Regions from separate parts of the Homo sapiens genome. Here region 1 is linked to region 2. Evidence: promoter capture Hi-C in 16 types of primary human blood cells and fetal thymus (Javierre and others, 2016). All regions are on one chromosome and are shown on one strand. The core of a region is centred on a gene start or on the middle of the fragment in contact, and the rest is flanking DNA. Distances in the headings are between cores, read along the strand shown.

Region 1 (5,652 bases), core at 2,724-5,223, 260 kb before region 2:
GACTTCACAACCATTCTGTGAGCTCAGCCAGGTGGCAGTTATTCTCTTTGCTTGACAAATGGTGAGCTGGGCCAAGGGAGGTTCAGACCTTTGCCCAAGGCCACACAGCTTGTGTGTGGCAGAGCCGAATCTGGAGTCGGTATCCCTGAGCACTGATGCCCTGGGCCTGGCTTCTTGCCAAGGGAGCACATTGATGACACATGTGAGACAGGAAACCAGTCCATTCTGTCACTAGGACTTTGTCATACATCCCATTTCTAGTGTGTTGGGCCTCAGGTAGAGCTGATGCCTTCCTTCTCCATCTGTAATGATGGTCCCCGGGCCCAGTGGGAAAAACAGCTGGTGGAGTTTCTGCTTGGTGGATAATGAGCAGTGTGACCTTGAGTGTGCTGCTTTTCTAATGTTGGCTTCAGTCTCTTCATCTGCAAAATGAGACCTGGGAATAATAGATTGAAGTCTTTGCAGCTTGAAAATATTATGATTCTGTGACATTTCAAGTGAAAAGAGCAACCTCAACAAAGCAGGGAAAAAAACATGGAATGCGAATTGCTGCTCCACCAGCTAGCATCAAGTGAAGTTACAGCCTGACCAGTTAATTCATGCACAATTGTTAATGATTAGGAGCAGTCTCTCAGGTTACCTACTCATTCGAGACTGTCCCCACTGACCCCTCTAGCCCTTTCATTTTCTAAGCTCCTTAAGGAAATTGTCTTGCATGCAGTTTTAATTTTCCTAGTGAGTGAGCAAATTAAAGTGTTCTGCAAGAAACACTTTAATCTTTGGGGTTGGCAAGTCCTAGATACCCAACTCAGACAGGCTCACGGGCCTGTCTGATAAAAGGGGACTTTATTGGCTGAAGAACGGGGGTCCAGGAACAGGCTTCCAGCTCCAGCACTCGGCGTGCCGCCCTCAACGTGCTGGAGCCTGCCCTGTCCCATCAGTCATGCTCGGCTTTCCCTTGCTGGCTTCGTTCTCAGGCAGGCTGGTCCTGGGCACCGGCTTGGAGAGCCCAGTAGCTCCACACTGTCGTCCCATCACTCAGCACCCCGCAGAAAGGGAGCTCTGCCTTCCCAGCACTTCAGGAACAGTCACTGGATGGTCTCCCTGAGTCCCAAGCTTGGGGATGGAATTTGACTGTCCAGGCCCATGTTGAGCTGTCCCTGAAGCCAGGGGACATTCCAGACCAAAAAGAGAGGAGGAATGTCCCCCAGAGTAGAATTGAGGTGCTATTAACAGAAAGAGAGCATGAGACAACAGTACTGTGCTTGAGTAGGGAACACTCATAAAGTGCCTATACTTCATATGTCATTTTCACTTGGATTTTTTTTTAACCTCACAGCAACCTGATGAAATCTGTAAAAGCAGGCATGATTAGATCACTGTTTTACAGCTAAAGAAGCTGGCTGACAGAGATTTAAAAGTGGCTCTAAATGACATAGTGGCAGAGCTAAATCTCAAATCTGAGAGTTCTACTTCAAGATCTGCTGCTCCCCTCAATACAAAGTCCTTCATTAGGCTACTTTAATTATCATTGCCGTAATCAATTTTGGAGAAAGCAGACCGACCGAGCAGCTGTCTGCTGGGACCTGGAGCTGGTTCCTGTACAGCGAAGCCTTGTTGTGATTGTGTCTGCTGTAGAATGATTTGACCTTCTGGGTCATTGCCCACACATCAGGTGTATCCATGTCCTTAGGATGGGCCGATAGCTGTGGAGCCTGTGGACAGAGCAACAAAGAGAGCACTTTTACTTAGACACCAAAACAAAAGCCTTGTCATTCTTGTTCTGTGCTAGTAATAAATATCAACATATAAAAATTTAAAACAGCAATTAAAAGAAGAAAATAAAAATCACCTATAATCCAGTGATTCAGTCAGTGAATGTTAACGTTTTGGACTATCTCTTTCTGGACTTTTTTTTTTTTTTGAGACAGTCTCACTCTTTGCCCAGGCTGGAGTGCAGTGGTGTGATCTTGGCTCACTGCAACCTCTGCTGCATGGGTTCAAGTGATTCTTAGTCTCCTGAGTAGCTGAGATTACAGGTGTGTGCCCCTATGCCCAGCTAATTTTTGTATTTCTTTTTTTTTTTTTTTTTTTTTTTGAGACGGAGTCTTGCTCTGTCGACCAGGCTGGAGTGCACTGGTGCGATCTCAGCTCACTGCAATCTCTGTCTCCCGGATTCAAGCAATTCTCCTGCCTCAGCCTCCTGAGAACTGGGGCTGCAGGCAGGTGCCACCACCCCCAGCTAATTTTTGTATTTTCAGTAGAGACGGGGTTTTGTCATGTTGGCCAGGCTGGTCTTGAACTCCAAACCTCAGGAGATCCACCTGCCTTGGTCTCCCAAAGTGCTGGGATTACAGGCATGAGCCATTGCACCCAGCTCTTTCCAGACTTTTTTTTTTTCCTTTATAGGACATATATAAAAATATGCTTTTACAAAAAATGGACAATAGTGGACACTGTGGTATACACATCTTGCTGTTTCACTTAGAAACCTCTTTCCAAGCCAGCACACACAGCTCTGCAGCCTGTTCAAGGCTGCCATGGTCTCCCAGTATAAGGCGGGTCTATCATTTCTTTGGGCAGTCCCCTGCCATGTGGGTGCTGGACCCCAGTCTTCTGCTACATGGACTGTGCCATGATGGGGATCTATAAAGCCACATGACTGTGAGCGTCCCTAATCGTCTCCTTAGGGTACCTTTCCAGAAGTGAGATTGTAGGTTCAGAATATTTGTCTTTAAAGCTTCTCGTTCCTGTGACTCAGTAGCTCTCCAGAAATGTGGCCTGCTTTCCTTCCCATCCCTCACCCTTCCAATACTAGGCATGAATGACTTTGAATGTATACATATACTTGTCAGGTTGGTAGTCCAAAGATTTTGGCATTTTGCAGTTTACTTTATATTCCTTTGATGACTATTGAGGTTGACTATCAAAAAGTAGTTTTAAGCCAGGCATGGTGGCTTACGCCTGTAATTCCAGCACTTTGGGAAGCCGAGGCGGGTGGATCACCTGAGGTGAGGAGTTCGAGACCAGCCTGGCCAACATGGTGAAACCCCGTCTCTACTAAAAATACAAAAATTGGCTGGGTGTGGTGGTGGGTGCCTGTAATCCCAGCTACTCAGGAGGCTGAAGCAGGAGAATTGCTTGAACGCAGGAGACAGAGGCTGCAGTGAGCCCAGATCACACTGCTGCACTCCAGCCTGGACACCAGAACAAGACTTTGTCTTAAATAAAAAAGTAGTTTTAAGTTATACTAAAACGTCTTCCCTTGCACCTCTGTTTTAGACATATTTATTTTTAATTTTGAGTGTTTTTATATTAACACTCAGTTGGATAACTGACTTGAGAGTTGTAGTGAGGGGACAATTTTCAGTGACTTGACATTAACCTAAAGGGACATTTAAAGTGATCTTTCAAGGGCTCTGGCCCTTATGCCTGTTTTAATTCTGTCTCTTGAATAGAAGAATCAGTTCATTGATATTTCAGCCTGTGCTGAAGTTCATCCCTGGGATTATGGCTGCCCTGAGAGATAGAAGTAAAGTCCAGAGTGACTTCGATAAACTGGGGAAAGAAACCTATACAGAACTGTGATGAAATATAGGAGGGAAAAATGATCTATTTAGGGAACAAAGCCAGCACCATAATGAGTTTAAAAGAAAGCGGAGAAATAAGGCCTAGGGGACCCAGGCCTGGGGCTTCATCAGGGTGAGCTGGAGCTGCATCTGAGCCAGCACCAACCCATCACAGGGGGCGCGGGAGAGCTCAGCTTACCAGCTGTGATAAATGACAGTAGTGCCACTGGAGTGGAGAAACCCCTTTACATTTTGCATCAATTAGTCTCAAGTTAGTGAATCTTGTTCAGTTTTCAATAGTTCATTCAGCAAATATTTACTGTGTACCCCCTGTGCTGATTTTGTAACACTCTTTTTTGTTTTTTGTTTGTTTTTTTTGTTGTTGTCGTTGTTGTGACGGAGTCTTGCTCTGTCGCCCAGGCTGGAGTGCAGTGGTGCGATCTCGGCTCACTGCAAGCCCCGCCTCCTGGGTTCACACCATTCTCCTGCCTCAGCCTCCTGAGTAGCTGGGACTACAGGCACCCACCACCACACCCAGCTAATTTTTTTTTGTATTTTTAGTAGAGACGGGGTTTCACCGTTTTAGCCAGGATGGTCTCCATCTCCTGACCTCGTGATCCACCCACCTCAGCCTCCCAAAGTGCTGGGATTACAGGCGTGAGCCACCGCGCCCAGCTGTAATACTCCTAAAACTGTGGTGAGGCTGGGTGCGATGGCTCACACCCGTAATCCCAACGCTTCGGGAGGCCGAGACGGGTGGATCACCTGAGGTCAGGAGTTCAAGACCAGCCTGACCAACATGGTGAAACCCCATCTCTACTAAAATACGAAAATTAGCCAGATGTGGTTGCGGGCACTTTAATCCCAGCTACTCGGGAGGCTGAGGCAGGAGAATCGCCTGAACCCAGGAGGCGGAGGTTGCAGTGAGTTGAGATCGTGCCATTGCACTCCAGCCTGGGCGACAGACTAAGACTCCATCTCAAAACAAACAAACAAAAAACACCAGGGTGAATCCAGAGTTTTCACAAGAGAAGGATGAAAACAGAAAGGTTGAGAATAAAGAATAATTACAGTTGTTTAGCCCCAGGAAAAGAAGCTAGGTTTAGGGGCAACTAAGAGACTATGTACATTGTTTCCTCTGAAGGCGGTGCTAGCAGGTGCTGCTCACTTACCAGATGAAACAGAGATGGACTTGAGTTGTAAAGGAACCATCACAGCTGGGTTTAGGCAAATGGGGGTGTAGGGGTAAGTCAATAACACAGAAATGCCTCTCTAAAGAGACCCAGCCATATTCTTGAAGATAATTGCCAGCCCATCTTCTCTAGACTCACCAGTGCCTGCCAGAGGGCTGAGGCCTCGTCAGGTAGCCTCCTGTGGTCCCTTCCCGTGTTAGGACCCTGACCCTAACCACGGATACACCTGCCGTGAGCTGGGCTGTGTGGATGCTGAGAGGAGCAGAGAACATGGAGTGTGACAGAAGGAAAGTGTGCCTTCTGTGGGCTGGGTGTTTTGCATTCCTGATGCCACTTCATCTTTGTAACAACCTGAGGTATTAGCCTCACATCATGGAGAGGTGGGTGTGTGGCACACAGAGGCAAGTGGCCACCCAGAATTCCAGCCCATGCCTCCAGAACCCTGAAGCTTGGCCTGGGGCTCTTAACGCCAGCCACTCTTGTGATTCAAGCCCAGCTTTAAGGAGGTTGGCTGCGGCCACAAAGGTACGGGCAGACTGGGGAGAGGTCATGATTCTGCTTGTCAGCTTGCTCCTGTCCAGCATCCCAAGCCAAGCCCGGGTGCTGGACTAAATGACCAGGATGTGTCAAAAGACACTGGCTTTAACCACACAAGAGTCTAAGAGTCTTACAACTTTACAACTGTGACAAGTCTAGCATCACAACTTAGAGCAAGAATCCTCCTCTCCTGGGCTCCCTCATGTGGAAAAGGCGAGAGATGGGCCCTTTGCTCTTGCAGGGCCTCTGTCTACCTGTAAAATCCCTGAGTCTGGGATTTGGAGACCCAACTGTTCTGAGGGCTCTGGGGAACATGTGGTTTCTGTTTAGAGCCACCAGGGGGGGCTGTGACT
Region 2 (5,419 bases), core at 2,218-4,717:
ACTGGGGTGTGGCTGCTCTTCGTGCTGCGGCAGGCTGTTTTGGGGATTGAATGAAGTTGCTTGTTTTTCATTTAAGAGCCAGGGTTTATCTAATGAGGAAACTGCTTAAGCCAAGTTACAGACTTGGCTCAAGACAAGAACCAGGCTGTGCTGTGTGAGAAGTACTATTTCAGACGTGTATTCCTCCTTCAAAAGGTACGAATGATATGGAGTGGGAGTGGGTGTGTGGAAAAAAAAATGGTTTCTGTGTCAATAAAAAGCTGCCCAGAGTCTAGTCACAATAAAAGGGAGCCAGACAGGGGTAGATCAGCTTCAAAGAATAAAGGAATAAATTATATAAAAATAACAAAATCTGCACACAGGAATACAGAGAAACAACTCAACACTGTAAGAAAGCAAAGACTGAAAATAAAGCTTTGAATAGAAAGAGGAGGGAAAATACCTCAAGAAGAGAGAGACAGAGAGCGAGAGAGAGCGAGAGCAAGAGAGAGAGACCCAGTAGGAAGGAGCAGTAAATAGAAAAAGAATAGTAAGTTACTGCTGAGTAAAAAAGTACATATTCATATATGATATATTCCAGATGCATATTCCTTAAATCAAGTTATTGATAAATCAGTAGATTTGATAAATATTAATACTTCATTAATCATTTGGCACATGGATGTTTTGAGAATCAACTATAGTCACTCAGTGATATGGCCCAGCATCTAAATTAGCCTCCAGACCCCAAGCCCTGACTCTTCATAGCATATTCCACTTCTTCCTGAAACAAATGAAAAAGGTAAAATAAAGTAGCCCAATAGGAAATTGAACAGCGCCTTCAAAGCAAGCTGAGAAAGATTCATTAGGTTCACACAAACATCTCATAAACAAAACCAGAAGCAGGAAAGAAAATAGTCGCAGAAGGATCTAACTAGGACTAACTGGATCAAGGGATGTTTGTGGGGAAAGGATACAGGAATTTCCCCAAATAACTGTAAGTATGTATGTGTATGCTCGACAGGCTGAGGTGGGAGGATGGCTTCACCCCAGGAGTTTGAGACAATCCTGGGCAACATAGCGAGATCCTATCTCTCTCTAAAAAAAATTAAAATTTAGCCAGGCATGGTGGCACACACCTGTAATCCCAGCTATTTGGGAGACTGAAGTGGGAGGTTCACTTAAGCCCAGGAGTTCGAGGCTGAAGTGAGCTATGATTGCACCACTGCACTCAAGCCTAGATGACAAAGTGAGACCCTGTCTCTAAAAAAGGAAAAAAAAAAAAAAAGTAAGTGTAAATACGAATGCATGCAAGCATTCTTCATTGACATGAATACCTTCTAAAATGTTTAAAGGGACTTTACTTACCATATAAAATCTGTTTTGTTTTCAATGTGGTATATAAAGGCACACATATACACAGAAAAATATTATTCAGCCTTAAGAAAAGAAAGGACATTATACTCAGTTAAATAAGCCAGTTACAAAAGGAGAAATTCTGGCCAGGAGCGGTGGGTTACTCCTGTAATCCCAGCACTTTGGGAAGCTGAGGCGAGTGGATCACCTGAGGTCAGGAGTTTCAGACCAGCCTGAGCAACATGGTGAAACCTCGTCTCTGCTAAAAATACAAAAATTAGCTGGGCGTGGTGGAGCACGACTGTAATCCCAGCTACTTGGGAGGCTGAGGTAGGTGAATCACTTGAACGGGGGAGGCAGAGGTTGTAGTGAGCTGAGATCGCACCACTGAACACCAGCCTGGGCGACAGAGCAAGACTCCGTCCCCATCCCCCTCCCCCAAAAAAGGACTAATTCTGTATGATTTTGCTCATATAAGGCACCTAGAATAGGCAAATTCGTAGAGGCAAAAAGTAGAATAGTGGTTACCAGGTGCTAAAGGGGAGGGAGAAATAAGTTATTGTTTAAGGAGTACCAAGTTTCTTTTGAGAGGATGAAAAAATTCTGGAAATGGATACTGGATATGGTTGTACAACATTATTAACATAATGCCACTGACTATGCTTAAAAATGATTAAAATGATAAATGTTATGTTATGTATATTTTACCACAATAAAAAAAAAGGAAGAGGTGGGCAGAAGAGTTAGTGTCAAAGTGATGCTGAGAGGTGAAGCCAGCTGCACTTCTGGGTTGGGTGGGGACTTGGAGAACTTTTCTGTCTTACAAGAGGATTGTAAAATGCACCAATCAGCACTCTGCAGCTAGGATTGTAAAACGCACCAATCAGCGCTCTGTGGCTAGCTAGAGGTTTCTAAAATGGGCCAATCAGCACTCTGTAAAAACACACCAATCAGCTCTCTGTGGCTAGCTAGAGGTTTGTAAAATGGACCAATCAGCACTCTGTAAAATGGACCAATCAGCACACTGTAAAATGGACCAATCAGCACTTGGTAAAATGGACCAATCAGCAGGACATGGGCAGGGACAAATAAGGGAATAAAAGCTGGCCACCCAGTCAACACAGGGAACCCAGTCAGGTCCATTTCTAGGTTGTGGAAGCATTGTTCTTTTGCTCTTCACAATAAATTTTGCTGCTCCTCACTGTTTGGGTCCATGTGACCTTTAAAGCTTTCTTTAACATTTAAGGTCCGTGGCTTCATTCTTGAAGTTAGCGAGATGGAGACCACAAGCCCACTGAAAGGAACCAACTGCAGACACAATGCATGTGAGAAAGACTCAGCCCTATTTTCTGGCTTTGAAGCTGGAGGAAGGAGCCAGGAGCAAAAGAATGAAGACAGTTTCCAGAAGCTGCAAAAGGGCAGGGACAGATTCACTCCAGGAAGCCCCAGAAACAAACACAGTCCTGCTGACACCTTGATTTCAATCCAGTGAGACATATTTTGGACTTCTGACCTACAGAGCTAAAATAATAGTAAGATAATAAAGTTATGTTGCCACCACTGAAAACAGTTTTATTTTGCTTTGGTTTAAGCTAACTGAGCTAATACAGCTGCCGTATTTTATGACACTTGCCTAAGGAAGACTTCCCATCCCTGCACTGCTCCCGGCTAACCAGTCCTTTCTCGGGACTCCTGGAAACCTCCCACTCTCAGAGAGGTGTAGGGTATAAAAATCACAAGCTGATGGCTCAGGATGTAGCAAATAAAAATACAAGACCAAAACGAAACCCAACCGGAACACCGAGTTAAACGTGAATTGACCATGCGATATTTGGGACATACTTAACACTAAAAATTACTGGTTGTGTATCTGAAATTTACCTTTAACTGGGCTCATGTATTTTACCGGGCAACCCTACCCCCCGGTCACAGTGAGACTACACACGGGGTCTTTTGGTCATTTTGCAAGTGTAAAAGACTAACGGGAACACCGGCATTTTTCAAAGCTCGATTTCCAAACCTCCTTTAAACACTTGTCCCCATCCCCTCCCCGCAGGCCTTCAGTCGCTCTGGCACGCGGGCCAGCGCGGGAACACTCTGCGCAGGCGCACAGCGTTCCGCGGGGGACGCTCAGTAGGGTACGGGACGCGCGCGGGGAGACCCTGTGCAGCGACACCGGGGCTGTAGTCGCCGTCTGGAACCAGCGCGGGAATAGGTGCGCAGGCGCACAGTGGCTGGAGGGCAGCGGCGGCGTGGTCTCGGGCCACTTCCAAGCAGAGGGCAGCACCTGTCCCCTCGGAGGCGCTGCCAGCGCCCTCCCTCCTCCTCCGCAGGGCGCGGGACCTCTATTTATATCGCCCAGCCAGCACAGGCCCATATTGGGCAGTGGCCTCAGTCAGGCCCGCTGGCCGCCCTGCCACACGGTAGCGTCCAAGCCAGGTCGTGGCCCAGCGAGTGGGGACGCGCCCCGAACCAGGCAGCACCTTCGTAAGTAGGGGTAGCGCCCCGGGGGAACGCGGCCCCCAGTCACAAGCCCTGCCTCAACTCCGGGCCAGGTTGAACCTGGGCGCCGACCCGGGGCCACCGGCACTTGCAGCCTCGGCTCTAAGTGACTTCCTTCGAGTCGCAGTGGGCCGGCGCCTGGCGTCAGGTGGGGCTCCCAGGAGCTGCTCCTCCAGGCCATCTCTGCCGTCTCCGACCTTCACCGTCGGGTTGTTCAGGCTCGTAGTCTGCATAGTATTATCATCCTCCGAATTACCTGACCAATGTATTATTGTGCCTTCCGTCGCTAGACTGTAAGCACAACAAAGGTAAGGGGCACTTCCCTGTTCCTGGTTGTCTTCCCGGAACCTAGGATAGTGCCTGGCACTTAGAAGGGTTCGTTTAAGTTTAATAAACCCTGAATGTATCCCTGAGCAACTCTCTTAACTTTAAAGCCAGGAGAATAATTGCCCTACATTTTCCCCCAAATGATTCTTAAGAGGAACTAATGAGCTATAATGCGGATTAAAGCACTTTGAAAAGTATAAAGCACTGTGAGAATGCAAAACAGTGTGAACTCGGCAAAGAAAAGAAAAGAAAACTGGTCTTATTTGTCTTTATCATCCATGTGCCTGGCTGTTACTGGATGCCCGGTGTGTGGGATGGATTATTATGAAATGAATCAGGTCTTTTTCCATGCTAGTGAGAAGCACAGAGTACATTTAGGGTGGTGCGTGTGTTCTCAGCCATTTCCTACCAGCCTCTGCAAGCGTAGGATTTTAGCAAGATGGTGTTGCTGAAACAAAATAGGGTGTGGAGACGTAATCGTATAAACTGGGGGTCACAAACTTAAATGGCTGTAGGATAATGTAAATGGACAGGAAAGAGAAAAGCAACAGCGTAAGAATTACAAATAATGACTGTCCCTCAGGTCTCAAAGAGGATAATGGGGCCCAGCAGATGTGCCAGCTGAGAGGTGGCAGCTGGGTACTCAGGTCCTGCACATTGTTGCCGCTTGGGAATTAAGGACTCAGTGTTGCCATACCTTTCATTTTTTTCAGTAGATGCTGGAATATTTCAGCTTAGCATGTTGACAGCTAATTTACCAAAAACAAAACAAAAAGCAAAAAAAAAAAAAAAAACTGAGCAGCCAATTTGTAATCTCAGGCGTAAGTGAAGCCAATACATGGCTTCAGTAGTTCCTTAAGAATGGGGCCAAATCCCAGACAGCAAATGACTGGGAATTAATTTTGAGGGTGCAAGTGAAAACTGGGTGTCATAGTGCATCACGCTATAAGCAAGGGAGTCACTTCACGATTCTGAATGATTTGACTGGAACAAGAGGATAGCAACTTGAAGCATTAAGCGTTGGCGAGTGGGAAAAAACACAGAACTGTTTGTCTGCTGCTCTCACACAATGAACACAGAAAATGTCTGTAACCTCTGCTAACCAAGAGGTATGTGGAGACTTCTCCCCATCAGCAACCAATCACTTAGTTCTGCAGCAGACAGCAGCTTGGGTGTCCTCTAACTCAGTGCAATTCTGACACCATCTACCTGGAGACAGCGTCAGATCCCACAGGCTGAGAGCTCAGTCCCACAG

What was found. The method cuts DNA at HindIII sites, captures the fragments that hold promoters and counts their contacts. A CHiCAGO score of 5 or more calls a contact.
Region 1: a fragment that was not itself captured here is called in contact with the fragment with the promoter of KBTBD12 in region 2 in 1 of 17 cell types (endothelial precursors); the score reaches 6.1 in endothelial precursors.

What each region holds. Positions count from the first base shown.
Region 1 is chr3:127,646,713-127,652,364 of GRCh38, forward strand. All of the region lies in intron 2 of PODXL2 (podocalyxin like 2), which reads left to right. Among named protein-coding and RNA genes, the nearest start is that of PODXL2, 20 kb to the left of the region's middle. The HindIII fragment of the contact is 2,470 bases long and covers 2,739-5,208 here.
Region 2 is chr3:127,911,765-127,917,183 of GRCh38, forward strand. KBTBD12 (kelch repeat and BTB domain containing 12) reads left to right here and starts at 3,468. Exons shown (of 6, transcript NM_207335.4): 1 at 3,468-3,822. All of the region lies in intron 3 of LOC107986129 (a long non-coding RNA gene), which reads right to left. It overlaps LOC124909427 (a long non-coding RNA gene), which reads left to right. Exons shown (of 2, transcript XR_007096071.1): 1 at 1-195; 2 at 2,582-2,902. The HindIII fragment of the contact is 5,822 bases long and covers 2,562-5,419 here.